Regions from separate parts of the Homo sapiens genome. Here region 2 is linked to region 1. The links are contacts of gene promoters, found by promoter capture Hi-C in human tissues and cell types (Jung and others, 2019). All regions are on one chromosome and are shown on one strand. Each heading gives the region's core, a stretch centred on a gene start or on the middle of the fragment in contact. The rest is flanking DNA. Distances are from core to core; before and after follow the strand shown.

Region 1 (7,538 bases), core at 4,797-7,296:
CAGCAGCCCTGGACCTCAACATGCAGGGGGCCCTTCTGGCAGTATGCAAGCACATTAAATCCCGAACCCCAGTTAAAGCAGAATGAAAGAGGGCACATATTTATTTCTAGCCAACTGCAGCCCAGCAAGCAACACATAGCTCGACTTGGTTCTGAATTCCATGTGTCTTCACCTAGATGCTCCCACATTTGCCTTTGTCCCTAAAATACACACATGCGTACACACACACGCGCACACACACACACACACACACACACACACACACCATGCTCATTTCCTAATTGTTTACGAAGGTATAGAATCACCAGTCACTTAGAATAGGCTCTTGGTTTCATGACACCTGAACAGATTAGAAAATTACTTTTTAAAATCAAAATATATTCATTGGCTCTCATTGCTTTCAGGATGAAATCCCCTTTGCACGGCTGCTTCCTCTTCCAGTAACATCACCCCTCCCTCACCTGAGTGGATGTTGCACTCTGGGTGGACCCACCTCCTCCCCCCAACTCCTCCCCACACTACAGCCTGCCCAGGCACCTCTGCAGTCTCCCCAGCAGAGGCCTCTAGCACGGTCCCAGTACACCCACAACTACGACCTCCTGTCTACACTCCATCCCACCTACTCCTGACACAATTTCTCCAACTCGCATTCTTCATGTACGTCTCCCAAACCAGCGAGGAAGACATCCGTTTCCCCGTTTCCTTCCTGACAGCAGGAACTGGGTCATTTTTCTCTGTCTCTTGAACAGTGCAGCACACAGTAGGCCCTCTGGGAGAGCACAGATAGTGTAGATGTTATGAGTTTGGACTTGACTCAAACCTTAGCTCCACTATTTTCCAGGAATTGACCTCCAGTAAGTCACTCAATCTTGTAAAACAAGGATAATAGTTCCTGTCTCATTATTGACACAGTACTAAGGACCTTATAAATGTTATCTATTGTTTTTAGCAGTGGTGTATGTAAGTAATAAGTGGCTCAAACAATTCACTGATGAGCAGAAGGGTTTCATTGATATCTTAACTCCCAGCACAGAGCCAGGGGAGTGGGCATCTGCATGTACTCGTCAATGGAATGTGACATGCCCAGGACACAAAGGTGGCAGCCCCATGCAGGGGTCCCTCTGGACTGCCTGGATCTGAATCCCAGCTCTGTCATTTGCTAATTATGAGATCTTGAAAATTACTTTAACTTTCTGGGCTTCAGGGTCCTCATCTTTAAAATGGGATAACTAAAATTCCTTCCTTGTGGATCGTTGGGAGAGTTGAATGAATTGATGTGTGATATTTTTTTCTTCATCCCCTCTTCTATCTGACTGGATCCTTTCCGCCAGCCCACCCCAGCATGAAGAGGAGGGGGAAAAACATGGTCAAGTTAGCTGGTTTGTCACATGTCCACTGCAGCTCAGGGCCCTCCCTGGAGTCTGAACTCATATTTCCTGAATGGTCCAAAGACACAAGTCAGCCCCCAAAGACATAGGGATAACTGGCAATGCTATTAGAGGGTGTGGGGATGAGGGTTAAAGGCTGCAGCCAACACCGTAAGGGTTTTGGGAGATTCAGGGTGATCCGGAAAGACAGCAGATAGATCACTAGGGCCCAGAGTTCGAGGGCAGCCTGGACAACAGAGCAAGATTCTCAGCTTTAAAAGAGAGAGAGAAAGAGAGAAAAGAAAAGGAAAGAAAAAAGAAGCCTAGGTGCGGTGGCTCACACCTGTAATAGCACTTTGGGAGGCCAAGGCAGGAGAATTGCTTGAGGTCAGGGGTTCGAGACCAGCCTGGCCAATATGGTGAAACACCGTCTCTACTAAAAATACAAAAATTAACCAGGCGTGGTGGCACATGCCTGTAGTCCCAGCTACTCAGGAGGCTGAGGTGGGAGAATCGCTTGAACCTGGCAGGTGGAGGTTGCAGTGCAGTGAGCTGAAATGGAGCCACTACACTGAAGTCTGGGCAACAGAGTGAGACCCTGTCTAAAAATAATAATAATAAAAAATAAAAATAGAAAAGAAAAAAATAGGGGATGAGTTGGGTCTGGATGAGCTGAGGGAGGAATGTGCTATGCACAGGCACTGGGGAGCTGAGGAAGGCTGGGATGGGCAGGTGGGATGGGCTCTCCATTTGGGTAGGGTGCTCGCTCAGAACTCTGTGGAAGCTTTAATGTGGTGACAGGCAATGGGGAGCCACTGCAGGCTCTAGAATAGGGGCGTGACTTGCTAGAAGTCCAGTTGGCAAGAGAGAGCTCAGAGCCAGTGTGGGGAGCTGGAGTCAGGGAGGTCAGCTGGCAGCGGCTGCAATGATGAGATGAAGAGAAGGAAGGGGCGAAGCCACTGCCCCTCTACAGCCCTTAGAATCTGGACATCTAGAGGCCATCAACTCTGTGTTCTCACCTCTTGGTCTCTTAGCCACCTCAGTTGCCATAGCCCAGACTGCCTGGTTTCAAAGTCCTCTCCTCCAATTCACCTACCACACCACAGCTAGACTGTCCTGCTCAAGAACCTACAATGGCTCCCTACTGCCAGGGAGAGCGAGTCCAAATCTCCTACCCTGCATTCAAGCCCTTGTGCTCTGGCCTGGCTTTGCCTATCCCAGCCCCCAGCCCACTCCTGGCCAAGCACAGTCAGGCTCATTTCTGCCTCTGAGCCTCTGCTCACCTCTCCCCTCTTCCTGAATGTCCTTGCTACTCCTCTGCACCTGTCTACATTCTACCCATACTTCAAAGGCCACAGAGTCCACCTGACTTCTGTGAAGCCCCTAGAGGGAACTCTGTTCAATTTTGCTCCATCACCTCCTAACTGCCAACACCACCGCTAATGATAGCAATGCCAACAGTGCCATTTGCTGAGCACTTACTCCAGGCCAGGCCCTGTGCTAAGTTGCTCACATGGGAAAGCTCATTTACTCCTTCCTCCAACTCCAGGAAATCACCATTGTTACCCTCTTCTTATAGAGGAGGAAATTGAGGCTCAGAGGCTAGGGGACTTGCCAAAGGTTACAGGGCTACTGAGTGGCAAAGCCACTTGCTCATCCCCAAGCCCATCCTCTTAGCCACTGGCATTTTTTGCCGCCTCTGACAGATACACTCAGGGCCGTCATGCTGTACACATCCAGGGGGCGCCCTACCCTTTGTAGTCCATGGGAAAGGCTCCTCTGGGGCGGTGGGGTTGTGTGGCTATGTGGTGGTCTTGTGTAGATGGGGGCTTTGGTTTCAGTTGCACTATTGCGTTATTGCAGATTGCTTTGTCTTTCCACCTGAGCGAGCCTCAAGCCTGTCCCTTGACTTGTTCATTAACTGACTCATTCTCTTGGTTCTGCCCTGGGAGGAAGGATGGGCCCGGGGAGGAGGGACATGAAGAATCCAAATCTGGGCTCAAGTTCCAACTCTGTAAACTCTGTAATTACCGGTCATTCAGGCTGGGGGAAGTCATAATCCTATTAGAGCTTCTATTTCCTTATCTGTGAAATGAGTCAATCATATGAACTTCAAAGAGCCGCCACAGAGATCAGTTGAGATGCAAAGTCTGTCAAGTGGCCTGTGTAGCTCTGGCAAGGGCAGGTACTCAGTAGATGGTGATGAACCCTGATGTGGACTAAGTGTCTGTTCTGTGTGGGCACAGTGCTGAGTGCTGTAGATCTCATTTCATCCTCAGCACACTATGGTGAGGGCCCCCTTGGGTTCCTCATACCACAGGTGAGCACTAAGTTTCAGAGAGGTTAACTTACCCTGCGTCACACAGCTGGCTAGAGGCAGCACCCGGCAACTAGTGCGGCCAGCACAGGGCTTGGAACTAGTTTGTCTAACATCCTGATGCCCTTCACCAGGATGATATTCAAAGCATCTAGCAAGCGGTGAATTGGAATGGACGCAGGCCAGGATGCTGACCCTCCACCCCCACCCCTCCGCCATGGTGCCCACCACGAGGCTCTACTGCCTCCCATTCTCAGGCCAAGCTCCTTCCCATATTCTTCCCCAAAGATTCCAAGCTTCTTCAGGGCCAGCCCCGCACCATGTCCCTTCCTTCTTCACATACCGTCAGGCACAGCGAGGTGCCCAATAATCAGCGGCTGCATTGAATTCCAACAGGGACTTTCAAGAAGCAATGAGGAGATCAGACCTCAGGTGAGAGAGGAGGAGCAGAGAGAGGAATTCTGAGTCATCGGTGCCGACAGGGCATGGGTGCCCAAGGAGACAAGCAGGAGGTTCCCCCAGGGAAAACTCACCTGGAGGTGGCACAGGGGGCTTTCTCCACATTGTTGTTGATGTCTTTTTCCCCATTCATTGCATACTGGTGGAATTTGGTCTTGAACAGAAATTTCCAAGGACAGGCCATCTCTATGGCTTTACAAAGCAGGTCACTTATGTCACTTATCTGGATTTGAGCTCAGATGTTCTTCACTGTGGGGCTGAAGAAGGGAAGCAGAGGTGAGGGAAGGTTGAAGAAGAGTTTACAGAACAGGGCTTCTCAGTGGGGTTGGCTCACTGGGGAATCGATATGAACGCCAGCATGAGCCCCTTCATCAATGCTTTGCAACCTCTGTCTCTATTTCGGGGTTGGAATGGGGAGCCTTCGGACACAGACTTCAATTCTGTAAAGCCACCTAATAATCTTAAGGAAAAACAATGAACCCCCCCATCCCCATCGCCACTTAACAAGGACAAACTGTATGCACCATGAGCCTCCTTAGCGGGACCTGCTGGCCCACCAGACCCAGCCAGGCTTCATCACTGGCCACAGGCAGGGTGAGGAAGAGCCCGGAGGTCGTTGAAACAGGGGTGCCTTTGCCTGACCCTGAAAGACACTTCCCAGCAGCTCTCATTATCAACTGTAGTTTTAGGTCTATTACTGGGGAAAGCACTCAAGCTGTAGCTACCTTTCTTTTAAAGATTTTGCAGTTGTTGTTCTAACTCAGCATTATTACTTGCTCCTCTTTTATTATGTGGGGAGGAAATATTTGTGAAAAATGCACTCATCCCTCGAAATCTGAGATCATCTCCTTTGAAACAGACAAGAGGAAGATCAAAGAGGCAAAAACTCTGTCTTTAGAAGACAGTGTAGTGAATATAGTCCATGTAAGAATTTTAGGCCAAGTGCAGTGGCTCACGCCTGTAATCCCAGCATTTCGGGAGACCGAGGCAGGAGGATCGCTTGAGTCCAAGAGTTCGAGTTCAGCCTGGGCAACATAGGGAGACCTTGACTACAAAAAATTGAAAAATTAGCCAGGCAGGCATGGTGTCTTGTGCCTGTAGTCCCAGCTACTCGGGAGGCTGAGGCAGAAGGATTGCTTGAGGCTGGGCAGTCAAGGCTGTTTCCAAAAAAAAAAAAGAAAGAAAGGGAAGGGAAGGGAGGGGAAGGGAGGAAAGGACAGGAAGGAAAGGAAGGAAAGAGGGAAAGAAAGAAAAGAACTTATAGCCCCATAGACCTGGGTTCAAATCCTGGAATCCTAGCTCTACCAGTTATGTGTCCTGGATCAAGTTATTTAACTGAAACTCATTTATTCATCCATAAAATGGGTTTAATATATCCATCTTACCAGGATTTGTGGGGAGGTTACATGTTATAAGGACTGATAAGATAATCTCTGTTAAAAAAAATTCTTAGCAGATACAAACTCCCATTTTGAACTTTTCAGAAAGTTTTTCCTTGTCATGTAACAACCACAGCTAATATTTGCAGAAAAGAAATCTGACCAAGATGCCATGTTCAAATGACCAAACCTCATGTCGGCATTTTTTTACCTAGACTTTCCAACACCTTCTCTCTGTAGGCAGAAAATTCCCACAATTTTCTGAGCCTTCTCAAAGAGGAAGAAACAAAACCCTCTCAAAACAGCCGCTTCCCCAGAAATGAAGGCAACTCACCTTGCAGCTGGCTGCACTGCCTCCCCGGGGTAAGGACAGTCAAACCAGGAAGAGACCTGTGCCTTGAGAACTTCGGGACTGTCTAGAACTGCCCAGTCCCCTCATCAAAGGTGGCCGAGAGATTTTAAAGCAGGAATGAGGCTGAGTTCTCTGCGGCCGGAGCCTCAGTTTTCGACTCGCTACAAAGTTATGAACACACTGGCAGCCAAGAAGTATTTATACTCACCCCATGCCATCCAGAGAGTTGTTTTTGCATAAAGGTCTCTTTTTTTTTTTTTTTTTTTTGGTTTCCAAAGGGAGTGTCCCCAGCTTGTGTACAGTTAGCTAATTTATGACTGTGACTGCCAGGGCCTGTGGGTGACCTGATCTTGCTGTTACATCACTCTGTGTGGTGCCTCTTCACCCAACCCACCTCTTTCTGGTCCCAAGTCCAAGGTGGCAGTTCATCAGCAGGGTGGCTGCTAAGATAGAGGCACCACGGAGCCAGGTTTTATTTGGCCAAGCCACATGGCCTCACTTTCAGCATCTGGGAGATTTTTTCCTCAGCAGGGAGCTCTCTGGTTAATCCCTGTCCATCCTCTCACTTTTCCAGCTTGTGACAGGAGTCCAGGAAGCTGGGGGAATATTGACAGTATGGAACACACTGGAAAATGCCCAGGTTCCAGAAGGCCAGTGATATTAGATGATGCCATTATTCCAGACAGGCCTCTGAACTAGTCACTTGAGGTTTTTGGAAGGGAAAGGAAGGAAGGCTATTGGCACAGAGAGGCCTCTGAGATGTTGGTCTTACTAACACCTCATCCTTTAGCACTAGGTAAGCTTTGGTGGAATGGCAGGTAGGATTAAATTCCTTCCCTTATAATGGAAATGATCACTTCTTACATGAAAAAGTGGTAATTTCTTATAATTTCATTTCATTTATTTTATTTATTTATTTATTTTTGAGATGGAGTCTCATTCTGTCACCAAGACTGGAGCGGAGTGGCACGATCTCTGCTCATTGCAACTTCTGCCTCCCAGGCTCAAGCGATCCTCCCACCTCAGCCTCCTGAGTAGCTGGGACTACAGGCATGCACCACCACACCCAGCTAATATTTTTGTGTTTTTGGTAGAGACTGGGTTTCACCATGTTGTCCATGCTGGTCTCGAACTCTGAAGCTCAAGTGATCTGCCCACTTCAGCCTCTCAAAGTGCTAGGATTACAAGGGTTAGCCACCATGCCCGGCCTATAATTTCATTCCTTATAATGCCTGAAATACAGTATTCCCATACATATGCATTTTTCCATCATAAAAGTAAAATAACAACTACATTAGGGAGAAGTTGAGAAGCAAAGGGAAAAAAAGTCACCCTTGATCTCACCGTCCCAACACTTTGCTACCACTGTCCACTCATTTCCTTCTTGTCTTTCCCAAGTTAAATTCAGCATAATATATTAACTTTGTCAAAGATAAACTAAGAGCCACAAAAAAGACATGGATATCAGAGCTCAAGGATCTTTGTTGAGTGAATGTGTGGATGAATGAATGAAAAATAGGAGTAAACTGGAATGAGTTTTAACATATCAAAGCCATCTTCCCTTCAGGCTTCAGCTCAATGCTGCGGCTCAATGCTGCGGCTTAGAGCTCTGGCTTATGGAGCATCTGCCACGAAGAGCAATGCATTTTAGAAAGTGACAAGAT
Region 2 (7,007 bases), core at 3,043-5,542, 210 kb after region 1:
TCTTGGCTCACTACAATCTCTGCTTCCCAGGTTCAAGTGATTCTCCTGCCTCAGCCTCCTGAGTAGCTGGGATTACAGGTGTGCACCACCATGCCCGGCTAATTTTTGTATTTTTTTTTTTTTTTTGGTAGAGACGTGGTTTCACCATGTTGGCCAGGCTGGTCTCAAACTCCTGACCTCAAGTGATCTGCCTGCCTCAGTCCCCCAAACTGCTGGCGTTACAGGCATGAGCCATGGTGCCGGGCCATACATTCTTAAATTGGGGTCTTTCTTCTCTAAATTGGGTTGTGGGCTGACATAGGTACTCTGGTATTAGGACACCTGGAGGAAAAGTCCCAATTAAGAGTTCCTGGCTGGGTGCTGTGGCTCACACCAGTAATCCCAGCACTTTGGGAGGCCAAGGCGGGTGGATCATGAGGTCAGGAGATCAAGACCATCCTGGCTAACACGGTGAAACCCCGTCTCTACTAAAAAAAATACAAAAAAATTAGCTGGGTGTGGTGGCGGGCACCTGTAGTCCCAGCTACTTGGGAGGCTGAGGCAGGAGAATGATGTGAACCTGGGAGGTAGAGCTTGCAGTGAGCCGAGATCGCGCCACTGCACTCCAGCCTGGGCAACAGAGTAAGACTCCGTCTCAAAAAAAAAAAAAAAAAAAAGAGTTCCTACGAGTACTGAACTGACCCTACTTCTGGAAGGCAAGAAAATGAGCCAGGATTTACCATATAACAATCATGTACACAAATCTCGAGTTGCAAATCTTTACACATGCTATCTCAAGGAGTTGTCACAGCAACTCTGGGAGGTAGGTGTTACTATCACTGTTTCACAGATGAGAAGCTGAAGTTTGAGGAGGGGTCACAACTTACTTAAGACCACTCAGTTTGCAAGTGGCAGAGGAAAGATTTATGCTCAGGTCAGTTTTGACACCAGACTATAGTGTTAAGCCACTGTCTGTGACATCAGAAACTCCAGTAGGACAAAAGGCTCTGATGGCATGATAGGGATTGAGTGTGGGGCATGAAGTTGCTGATTCCAGAATGAATGTGGGAGGTTCCAGAGAATCCTCCACATCTGTGAACCAATGCCTCTCTAAAGTTGTCTTAGAGGCACAGGCTGGTGCTAGGACAGCTGCATTAGAATCATCTGGTGGGCATGTGAAGAACGCAAAGAGCTGGATTCCATTCCCAAAGAGTATAATCCAGTAGCTGATATGTTTTGGATGTTTGTCCCCTCCTAGTCTCATGTTGAAACGTGATTCCCAATGTTCACAGGGCCTAGTGGGAGGTGATTGGATCATGGAGGCAGATCCCTCATAAATGAAGTATCATCCCCTTGGTGATAAGTGAGTTCTCGCTGAGTTCATGTGAGAGCTGGTTGTTTAAAAGAGTGTGACACCTCTTCCCTCTCTCTTTCTTGCTCCTGCTTTCGCCATGCGATGCACCTGCTTCCCCTTTTTCTTCCATCATAATTGGAAGTTTCCTGAGGCCCTCACCAGAAGCAGATTCTGGCAGTGTGCTTCCTGTAAAGCCTGCAGAACCATGAATCAATGAAACCTCTTTTCTTTATAAATTATCCAGCCTCAGATACTCCTTTATAGCTATACAAATGGACTAACACAGCAGGAGTGTAATCAAGCCCAGGAACATGAACATTAAAAAATGTCTAAGTGATTCTGATGCATAGATAGATTTAGGAACCACCACTGCCCTTGGCAACATTTATAATCCTCAGGGTTCCTCCTTCTCCCTTTAGTTGTAACATAATCCCCAGGGATTCAGAGCCAAGACATAGTTCTGAAGGAGGAGCTATAGTTACCATAGAAGTGATCACACATGCGCCATTGCACTCCAGCCTGGGCAACAAGAGTGAAACTCTGTCTCAAAGCAAAAAAAAAAAGTGATCACACAGACTCAGACTGGTTAGAACAGAGTGATTGTCAATCAGAAGCAGTGGTGGCATGTGTCAGTACCAAGGACACTTTCTCAACCTCAGTGCACTCACCTCAGTGGAGAACAACTGCATTAGGAGTGTTTGGTTATCCTAGAAATGAGCTTATTGGGGCATAAGAGATAACTGTTTGCTCAGGGATCAATGTTAATCACTTCTGCATTATTACAGAGAAGCCACTGCTTTCTTCATCATATGGCACATCTTCCAGGAGGACTATCTACAGGAATGTCTCATGTGTTTTGCCCATTACAACTAAAGGGAGTTTGCACTTGGGGGTTCTCGTTAGACTTTTCTGGTTAGACATCTGATGCTTCCTTCTTTGGGTTTTGAGTGGTCTGGGACATGTCAATAGCTTCCTGCACACCAAAGGAGGTCCGAGATCAAATGGCCTTGGGTATAAAAGTACATCCATGTGCTGTGTGGGTGGTGGGAACTATGGTGAACTGCCCAAGAGAGATGCTACTTCTCAGTTTCAGTCTATCCCTGCCATGCAGAAATGCAGGATCAGTATTACCAGAGCTTCCGATATGAGAGATAGAGAAGGAGACAAGGAGAGGGAGGTGGAGAGAGAGAGAGAGGCATAGACAGAGAAGAGAGAGCAGATACTGGGATTTCTAAATATTGGCTCAGATGAAAGTTAAAAAAATATGTGGGCCACACAAAATATTTCTGTAGGCCACATCTGGCTATGTCTGCCAAAGAAATAAGTTCCATTTTGGAAGCTGCAATTCCAAAGCACCATGCTTAGTCACCATGCTATGTTGATTTGGCCACCTCTCAGGGTGAACCTCTTAGTGTGGTCTTTGCTTTTAGGGAGAGAAACTGAGGGAGAAAGGTGGGACAGAACCATTTCTTACTGTCACCAACAGGCTCTGGTAGATTGCTCTAAAGCAACTTACTGACACACTGACAGATTTAAATTTCCACTGCTGAAAACCACTCATATCTTACTGTTGTCCAAACCCAAAGAATCAAATGGCCAACTCAATGCTGTTAGAATTTTAATAGTAATACTGGTTCCTCTTCCTCTTATCTTCCAAATCTCCCATGGAAAAATGATCATCTCCATTGACAAGCACCGCCATCTGCAATTGGAGTAATCTGAAGCTGGCATTGTACTCTGCTTATCTCATCAACCCAGATTCCAAGGAGTTGAGGGATTTGATCATTTATGAAGGGGATTCGACCTGCATTTCTACCCTCTACCACCACAAAGTAAATTGTGAAATCATTCACCCTTTTCTTCACTTCTAAATCCCTGTAGTGTCCATCTTTCCTGTTGCAAAGAAGTAGTAGAGGGGCAGAATCAGTCTGCAAGTGACAAATATTCTTTTTGCCTTGCAGCTCCTACTTCCACCAGTTCTCTTCTTTCCCACTCTCTGGTGGGTGAGAACTCTGGTGGGTAAATGTCTTTCCTGAGAAAGAAAGCCTCAACTAAGTGGGTGGTTCTGAAACAAAAATAGTGGCAAAGACTTGGCTGATGGAGAAGTATCCAAGGCAGTTTTGTGGGATCTTCCTGTCCCTTCAAAAGCAACTGGGCTCTGGATTCATATGTTAAAGGGACAGTTACCTTGGTAAGCATCTCTGTGTGTCAGATTCCTGCCCAGAGCCAGTAGCCCCTTTGAAGTATATGATAGTTATCACAAGGATGGAAATGGAGAAAGGTTTTCAGAATCACAGCAGAGATAATCTAAAATATTCATGCTTGTCCACTCCACCCACCCCAATCCTCTGGTCTGTCAGAATTAGCTTGGGGTAGGATTTTAATCATATAAAGTTCAGAAAATCTCCGTAGATGATTTTACTTCACTTGATTTAGTCCTAATTGAAAGCTACTGAACAGAGAATTATCCAGCCATTTGAGTTACTTTGGGAGTATTGTGGCTACATGGAGTCTATAAATGAGGTGCCCATTAAAAAACACACACACACACACACACCCCATGGGCCTTAAATAAGATGTGGATGGGATTAGACATATGCTTAGTCACCTGAAGGAGACGGGGCAGCTCCTAGGCATAACTGAAGATATTACCAAACCTAAAGAATGTGCCAAATTGAATGGATGGATAGTGCAGAGGAAAGAGAAGGTTGGTCAGTCAAGAGAACATAGACGAAGGGAAGCCACTGAAGCAAGGACTGGTAGTGCCCATCCCTGAGGGAGCCTCAGCAATTAGACCTTAAGTATCATGAACCATTGGCAAAACCATCACTATCACAAGAAGGATGAGTCAGGCCACCCGAGGCTGATGTCAGTAGGCATCAATCAACCTAATATCCCTGGTGCTAATTCCTTGCTTCTTCAAACAACCTTCTGGCCCCCTCTCTTAAAGGAAGAGAAAACACTCGTCTATATTTCTGGTCCCCAAGAAAGCAGTCTTTCATGGTGAATAGCTTTTGATTAATCATGATTTGGCATCCCATAAAGCTTGATTCCAAGTCCCTGCTTGATATGGCCTAAGCTTACTCTTCAACCTCATCTTAAACCACTAATGGTGAAATGATAGAATCTTCTTAAAAGGACTTTTTGTTTGTTTTGTTTTGTTTTGTATTTGTTTTTGTTTTTGTTTTTGAGAGGGAATCTCACTCTGTCTCCCAGGCTGGAGTGCAGTGGAGTAATCTTGGCTCATTGCAACCTCTGCCCCCTAAGCTCAACGGTTCCTCCTACCTCAGTCTCCAAAGTAGCTGGGACCACAGATGCACGCCACCATGCCCAGCTAAGTTTTTATATTTTTGGTAGAGACAAGGTTTCACCATGTTGCCCGGGCTGGTCTCAAACTTCCGAGCTCAAGCAATCCACCCACCTTGGCCTTCCAAAGGTTACAGGTGTGAGCCACCACCCCAGACCTTCAAGGGCTTTTTTTTTTTAAGGTGAAATTCTCATACATAAAATTAACCATTTTAAAGCGAACAATTTAGTGACATGTATCACATTCACAATGTGGGGCAACCACCACCTCTATCTTCCAAAACATTGTCATCACCCCAAAAGGAAATCCCTTAGCCATTAAGCAGTTGCTCCCTATTCTCTCCTGCCCCCAGCCTCTAGCAAACATCAATCTTCATTCTATCTCTTTGGATTTTCCTATTGTGAATATTTCATGTAAATGGAATCATGCAATAGATGACCTTTTGTGTCTGGCTCCTTTCATTTAGCACAATGTTTTCAAGGGTCATCCACATTGTAGTGTTTATCCGTACTTCATTTCTTTTCATGGCTGAATAACATTCCATTGTATGGATATGCCATAATTTGTTTATACATTCATCCATTGATGGATATTTGGGCTGTTTCCACCTTTCAGCCATTGTAAATAGTGTTGTTGTGAACATGGATGTACATGTCTTTGAGTAGCAGACAAATACAGTCCTCATTTATACACTTCTTGGAATTGCTGGGTCATATGATAATTCTGTATTTAACATTTTAAGGAACCAACAAACTGTTTTCCACCATGGCTGAACCATTTTACATTCCCACCAGCGATATAAGAGGGTTCCAATTACTTCACATCCTGATCAACACTTACTATTATCTATCTTTTCTTAATTATAGCCCTCTTAGTAGGTGTCATGCCCTAATAACTAATGATGCTTAGTATTTTTATGTGCTTGTTGGCCATTTGTACATTCTCTTTGGAGAAATGTCTATTCAAGTTTTTTCCCATTTAAAAAAAATAATTATTTATTCTTAGAGCCTGGATCTTGCAATATTACCTGGTCTACACTTGAACTCCTAGGCTGAAGCAATTCTTCTCCTGAGTAGCTGGGGCTACAAGCACATGCGACCCTGCCCTGCACTTTTTGCCAACTTTAAAGTTGGGTTGTTTGTCTTTTTATTGTTGAGTTGTAAGAGTTCTTTATAGTCCAGATAGTAGACCCTTACCAAATATATAATTTACAAATATTTTTGACCATTCTGTAAGTTGTCATTTTACTTTCTAAAACTATCCTTTGAGGCACAAAATTTATTTGTTTATTGCTCATACTTTTGGTGTTCTATGTAAGAATTCATTGCCAAATCCGAGATCATGAAGATTTATCTTTGTTTTCTTCTAAGAGTTCTGTGGTTTTAACTCTTGTATTTATGTCATTAATGCATTTTAAGGTAATTTTTGCTTATGGTATGAAGTAGGTATCCAACTTAATTTTTTTGTATGTGGTTATCCAATTGTCCCAGCACCATTTGTTGAAGAGATTATTCTTTCTATATTGCATGGACTTGGTGTCCTTGTCAAAAATCAGCACCATAAACGTGTGAGTTTATTTCTGGACTTTCAATTCTCTTCTATATCTCTATCCTTATGCCAGTACCATACAGTTTTAATTAGTGTACCTTTGTAGTAAGTTTTGAAATTGGGAAGTATAACTCTTCCAACATTGTTCTTTTCCTTCAATATCATTTTGACTATTTGAGGTCCTTTGCAATTACATTTTAATCTGAGGATTGGCTTTTCCATTTCTGCAAAAAAGTCTTTAAAATTATGATAGGGATTGCATTGAGTATGTAAATCACTTCGGGCTTTACTGCCATCTAAATAATATTAAGTCTCCAACCTATGAACAAGGAATGTCTTTCCGTTTCTATAGGTCTTCCTTAAATTTTTTCAGCAATGCTTTTATAGTTTTCAGTGTACAAGTCTTTCATCACCTTGGTTAAACTTATTCCTGGGCATTATATATCTGGGGAGAATGCTAAAAAGGATCATTCTTACTGGTGTGCAGAGAAGAGTCCTCACAGGAGAAAGGTTAAAAGCAGCAAGATGCATTGTATATTCCTGGTGAGAGATGATGATGCCTTGGGCAATAGGGTAGTCTCAGGAATGGCAAGAAGAGGTTGAATTCAGGATAACTTTGGAAGGTACAGCCAAAAGACAAGATTGACTGAGATATGGGAAAATTCTGAGTCAAGGATCACTTCAAGGTTTTTGACCTAAGTAATTGGTGAATGATGGTGTCATTTACTGAGATGGAGAACACTGGACAAGGCACAAGGGAAAAAAGAACTTAATTTGGACAAATCGAGTTTGAATTGTCTGTTAGAGATGGTTATTGTT

What was found. The method cuts DNA at HindIII sites, captures the fragments that hold promoters and counts their contacts. A contact is called where the count stands out against the background at its distance.
Region 2: a contact is called between a fragment that was not itself captured here and the fragment with the promoter of NOS2 in region 1, in 1 of the 25 tissues and cell types used here (H1 embryonic stem cells).

Annotation. Positions count from the first base shown.
Region 1 is chr17:27,794,483-27,802,020 of GRCh38, forward strand. It overlaps NOS2 (nitric oxide synthase 2), which reads right to left and starts at 6,047. Exons shown (of 27, transcript NM_000625.4): 1 at 5,857-6,047; 2 at 4,218-4,400. The coding sequence starts at 4,327. RefSeq lists promoters at 5,880-7,538, 5,960-7,077, 5,960-6,252, 6,011-7,538, an enhancer at 6,221-6,249 and a cis regulatory region at 6,562-6,584. The HindIII fragment of the contact is 5,928 bases long and covers 3,066-7,538 here.
Region 2 is chr17:28,009,514-28,016,520 of GRCh38, forward strand. No RefSeq gene overlaps it. Among named protein-coding and RNA genes, the nearest start is that of LINC01992, 21 kb to the left of the region's middle. The HindIII fragment of the contact is 4,743 bases long and covers 1,922-6,664 here.